Linked DNA regions of Homo sapiens: region 1 is linked to region 2. Evidence: promoter capture Hi-C in 16 types of primary human blood cells and fetal thymus (Javierre and others, 2016). All regions are on one chromosome and are shown on one strand. Each heading gives the region's core, a stretch centred on a gene start or on the middle of the fragment in contact. The rest is flanking DNA. Distances are from core to core; before and after follow the strand shown.

Region 1 (2,887 bases), core at 107-2,606, 530 kb after region 2:
GAGAATATGGCTTGTTTCCAAGCTTTTCTGCAAAGAATAGTGCAGTGGTGAAGAATTAGGCACAGCAGTTAAATCTTTTGCTTCATTTTTTTTTAAACAATTATGGAATGCATTCATCATACAAAGTCTTACTGTCAAATTGATCCCAATAGCTTACACTGAAGACCTTTAATGAAGCTGATGGGTGAAAATTATATAAGGCAAGCATCAGGCTAAATACAACAGTGGAAAGCTTCCTTCTCACCCCTCCTGAGAGAAAAATAAAATTTTTAAAAAGTATCAAAGTTTTAAAGTATTACTAAAAAAATAAGGAGAAAGTAAGAGAGACAAGTTGGCCAAACTTGGGTGAGATAAATGTTTTTAAAGTTTAAGAATGGACTTCTGTTTCCAGCCAAAATGAAGTAAGGATTGAATCTATTCTCCTTCCTGAAACAAAAACTGAATAAAATGTATGAAGCATTGGTTTTCAAGAAATTGGACTTAGGCAATGAACGACAGTGATCCTAAGACAATGGAAACAAATGAGATGAGCACCTGATTGTCTCAGCTTATTGCCTAGAAATAGTTTCCAGACTGGTACAGAACTGGAGGACTCCAGGAGGAGACTGCAGTCTCCCTGAGTTCAGGATGCATAGCAAGCAGTCCAGGGAGGCCGAGGTTGCTGAAGGTTGCCAGGCATAGAACTATATAAAAGGAGATTTCCTACATATACTTAGTTTACTCAAGAAGAAAGAGATCATTTTAGTAGTCATATACTAATTAAAGAAATTAAATTTTTAGCTAAAAATATTCCTATAGAAAAAATACCACGTTCAGATGGCTTCATAGGTAAATCCTAACTAGGCATATAAGGAAGATAATAATCTTACAAAAATTGCCAAAAAGTTAAAAAGGAAAAAATACTTCCCAACTCATTCTATGAGGCCAGCTTTACTCAAATATGAAAATCAAAATCAATCCAAGACTTTACAGGAAGCAACTACAGACTAACATTTTTCATAAAGATAGATTTTTTATAAACTTTTTTTTATAAAATGTAATAAAACATTAACAATCTGAATTAAAAAGTCGATTCCAACTGGGGTTTTCTCAGAAATGCAAGGTTGGTTTAACATTCAAAAATCTACCAGTGTAATTCGTTATATTAATTCACCAGTTTTCTCAGAAATTCAAGATTGGTTTAACATTCAAAAATCTACCAGTGTAATTCACCATATTAATAGACCAAAAAGGAAAACCATATGATCAACTTAGCAGGTCCAGAAAAAGTATTAAACAAAATCCACAGCGATTCCCGATTTAAAACAAAACAAGCAAACAAAAAAAAACTCTCAGCAAACTAGGAAGAGAAGGGAATGCCCTCAATCTGATAAACAGCATCTATGAAAGCTCACATTTAATATCAGATTTAATGGTGAAAGATTGTTTTTCTTCTAACATCAACAAAAAGGCAGTATGTCTGCTCTCACCATTTTTACTCTACATTTTATTGGAGATTAGAGTAAGGAAAAAAAATAAAAGGCATGTAGATAAGAAAAAAAAAGAAGAAGTGAAATTGCTGTTATTAACAACCAGATTCTCCTATATGGAACATTTTGTGAAATTACATAAAAGCTATTGGAACTAGTATAGTATTTTTTTGCAAGTTTGATGTTTATACATGCAACATCAGTATACAAAATTCAGTTGTTTTTCTGTATACTAGCAATGAACAACTGGAAATTAACATAAACTTTTTTTTTCTACAAAGAATCAAAGGCAATTCAGTGATCTGGGAATGGATATAATCATTGATATTATTCACCACAAGCCTTTCTGCAGATAAGAGAAGTCCATACTAAGTAACAAAACAGATTCAGACTTCCCATAGCTCATTAAAATTGCCCCATGAGTTGCAGGACTAGTATTTCTGATTCCTGGTAACTAATGAGATTGATAGCAATCTCATAAAAATCACAAAACTACTTCTTTCCATTACATTTATTCATTTAGAGACAGAGTCTATGTCACCCAGGCCAGAGTGCAGTGGTCCAATCTCTGTTCACTGCAATCTCCGCTTCCTGGGTTTTAGTGATCCTTCCACCTCAGCCTCTGGAGTAACTGGGACTACAGGTACACGCCCCCATACCTGGCCAATTTCTGTGTGTTTTTGGAGGTGGGTTTTCACCATGTTGCCCAGGCTGGTCTCAAATTCTTGAGCTCAAGCCATCCCTCTGCCTTAGCCTCTCAAAGTGCTGGGATTGCAGTCCTGAGCCACTGCACCTGTCTACCATTGCATTTAATTCTACATAGATAATCTAAGACTATTTGAAATTAGTTACCATGACTGACACTGTAAGTTCCGAATAGTTTGTCCTATATCTATAAATCCTAATTTTAAGGAAATTGATTGATTCAGTCGGAGTAATCAGTGATTTGTGCAGTCAGAGTTGTGTACAATAACAATATATATTTTTATCCGGATAAAAATACTAAGCTTTTAGTGTAAAAATGGACTAAAAATATTTAAACTAGTGGCTGAATTAAATATTAGCCCTTTAAGTGTTTAGTTTGTTCTTAGTTAATATAAATCAAAACAACTGGTAAGAAACAGCCAAACTGTCAGTTAACAACCAAGAGCATTTTTCCGAGAAGAGGAGTAAGATTTTCACTGGATTCTTAGAAGTGTTGTTACTCAAATGAGTTTTGAAAATCACTGAGTTAGAGATGTCTGTCACGGTATTTCAAAAATATTTTTCATAGAAGGGTGTCTTACTCCAAACAATACAGATATACTTAATTATTTATTTAACAACAACAATGTACTAGTTACTATTACTGGGTTTTTTTGTTTTTGTTTTTGTTTTTTGAGACAGAGTATAGCTCTGTTGCCAAGGGTGGAGTGCAG
Region 2 (2,902 bases), core at 47-2,546:
TTTTTAAATAAAAAACTTCAGTGGTGTACAAGGATTTTCAAACAATATTTTATTCCATCCTCCACTCCACCCACTTAAGAAACAAATTTTGGAACAATCTGACTGAGCTACTGGGCAGACAATTGACCAGACCAAATTTAAGCAATCTACAATGCACTTTTTGATGTTACTTGATTATATATGTCACAAAGGAGGCTCTTAAATCTATAGCTGAACTCTTGGTTAAGGAAACCAAGTCTCAATAATCATGTAAAACACATGTGCTATGTCCCTTAGTGGGCTGTCAAATATACTAACTACTGAATTTTCCTTAAATTCTGACATCTCTAGCTATTTAACTTTCCTTTCTTTAAAAAAATTTTTTTTCTCTAAAAAAATTCAAGAACATCCACCAAAGAGAATAGCTAAAAATAATTAAATAGAAAACCACAATTCATAGATCCCCAGGATAAAATTTCCACAGCATTACAGGTGGAAAGAAAATGCGTGCATACACACACATTTACATAAAGATGTAAAAATATTTATGGCACCCTAAGAAAAAAAATGACAGTGAAAGCAAACAATCCTACCACAACAGGACAAACCTAGTTTTACTATTCTCTTTGCGCAGGTATAAAACTAAACAAATGCACTTGCTGGCGGGGAAGGGAGGACAGAGAGCAATTCCCACTTAAACTTGCTTCATTCAGGAGCTAGGGTAACAAACCAAAGCAGCAGAAAAGGCTCCCGTGCAAAACATAACCAGTCTGAAGGTCCCAAATCGGGAAGAACTAAACTAGGGGAAGGGGGATCCCCGAAGCTCTTGAACAACCCGTTCCCCAAATTTCCATGCCACACAACAGGAGCTGGGGGCTTCCCTCGGACTCCATTTTCAGGCCGCGTTGTCTGCCTTTCAGGCCACGCAGGGTGGGCATTTGGGTGAGGCCGGGGTCCCCCACCCACCTTTCCTCCCCGCCCTCTTCATTGTTGTCGGAGTGTGATGGATCACCTGCCGGGCGCGGGCTCCCGCGGGCGGACCGGCTGAGCGCAAGGACGCGCAGTGACGAGCGCCGCGCGCCTCCCGCAGGACCCGCGCCCCGCGACCCCAACCTACTGCCCGCCCCCACCGCGCTCACCGCCACGAAGCCCGAGGAAGAGGCGATGAACACGCGGATGACCATCCTCTCGCTGCGCCCGGGACAGACCCCTTGCCCCCCGGGCTCCGGGCTGGCGTGGACGCAGAGCTGAACCCAGCTACGAGCCGCCGGCAGCCTCTGGGTAAAGCGCTGCCGTCGGGGAAGATCGCTGGGATCTGGCTCCCTCCCGGCGGGTCCGCAGATAAAAGCCCAGCGCCGCCCGGCCGCAGGCTGAAGGGGAAGGAGAGGGAGGAGGAGGGAGCCGGCTGCGGGGCTTGATGGGATTTGTAGTTTCCGTCTCTCCCTGGAGTGGCTGGTGGACTGAGCTCCCCTCCTGACCGCGCTTCTATCCCGAACACGCGCAGGTGGCTGGAGGGGAGCCACAGCCCGGGCAGAAGCTGTGAGGTGGGTTGGCAAGGATCCTGGCTTGATGAGGAAAAAGCAAACTAGGCAAAAGGGCTCGGTTCAAAGTCCAAGCTTGGGTTCTGTATTGTGGTTTATTGGTTTGGAGCATCCACACCCAGAAATGCCAACAGACACGATCGTGCTGCGGGCACACATCGTCTCAGGGCCGCTGGCGTACCGGGCAAACCCCAGCTACCTGAAGCAGGCGGGATCGGCGAGCCGGGTGCTTGGGAGGTGTGGGCGGTGGGGTTGGGCTCGTTTGTTTGTCCAGTAGCACTGGAGATTGCAGAAAGGTGATTCTTTTGGGTAAATGAGAGGTCTTCTCTTGTCTGTACACACTGAAAATTAGAAACCCAGATGGAAGCACAACCAATATTTTATTTTTCTCAGCAAAACTGTAATTGTAGTAGAAAAAAATAAATACCAAACGAAATTGGAATCCTTCTATCAACATTGGAAATCAGGACCCTACCTGCCCCACCCCTCCCTACACAATGGCTTCGCCTCTGTGCACCTAATATTTACAGTTCAGCCAAATCTGTGCCTTTTTCAGAACCGCTGCACATTCCAGCGCAGTTTCCCAGGAGGATGCTGTTAAATAAAAAGCTTCTATATAGTTGCTAATAGTTTAGGAATAGTTTTTTATCAAGTGCTTTCTGTTTGACAAAAGCTCAAGCCTCTCTCTCAGTTTTGTCGAAAGGAACCAGTTTTCCCTGCTGTACTGTATTTACTTTTTTCCTTTCAACACGGGAGTTTAGCAGAGGTCTGGGAACAATGTTAATTAAGAAAAAGTAAGAAATTAGATGATGAGGTCTCTGGCTCTTTGATACATTTCTTGCACAAAGAGCAATCATTATGAAGTATTTTTTAGAACAGTTATGAATATTTCAAATTTATAACCTTTCCTATTGCTTTTCTTAAAGCCATTTCTGTAGTAGGAATCTTTTTAAATTTCCTTCAATAATAGAAGAGACACTCCTAATGGGACTTTATTTCTTCTTCGTGTTTAAAATTTTAAATAGAAGTTTTGCTGTCTTTAGTATCTCTCGGCAAATGTACTTTAATTTTGCTACCATAAATGTGGAAATGCACGTTTATAAAATAGAAAATAATTTTCTTAAAAGTAGATACCGTATTTCCTATATAAATGCAAATCTTTATAAAAGTCAGCATTTTCTTCAGTTTGGAATTATTCAGCTATGAAGATATAGTTAAACTCAAATAATTGGAACTCAGAGCCTACTCTGTGAAAGGTACAAGAATGGATAAAAAGTTGAACGAGTCATTTCTCTGTCAGCAGAGCACCTATTGTCTAGGAAAGAAAAAGACAGATACAGAAATAGTGACAGAACAAGACACACTGTACTAATACAGTGTTG

What was found. The method cuts DNA at HindIII sites, captures the fragments that hold promoters and counts their contacts. A CHiCAGO score of 5 or more calls a contact.
Region 1: a contact is called between a fragment that was not itself captured here and the fragment with the promoter of SH3BGRL2 in region 2, in 2 of 17 cell types (erythroblasts and megakaryocytes). The highest score is 7.7, in erythroblasts.

What each region holds. Positions count from the first base shown.
Region 1 is chr6:79,095,776-79,098,662 of GRCh38, reverse strand. No RefSeq gene overlaps it. Among named protein-coding and RNA genes, the nearest start is that of PHIP, 19 kb to the right of the region's middle. The HindIII fragment of the contact is 2,244 bases long and covers 235-2,478 here.
Region 2 is chr6:79,629,723-79,632,624 of GRCh38, reverse strand. It overlaps SH3BGRL2 (SH3 domain binding glutamate rich protein like 2), which reads right to left and starts at 1,296. Exons shown (of 4, transcript NM_031469.4): 1 at 1,119-1,296. The coding sequence starts at 1,163. The HindIII fragment of the contact is 2,885 bases long and covers 1-1,597 here.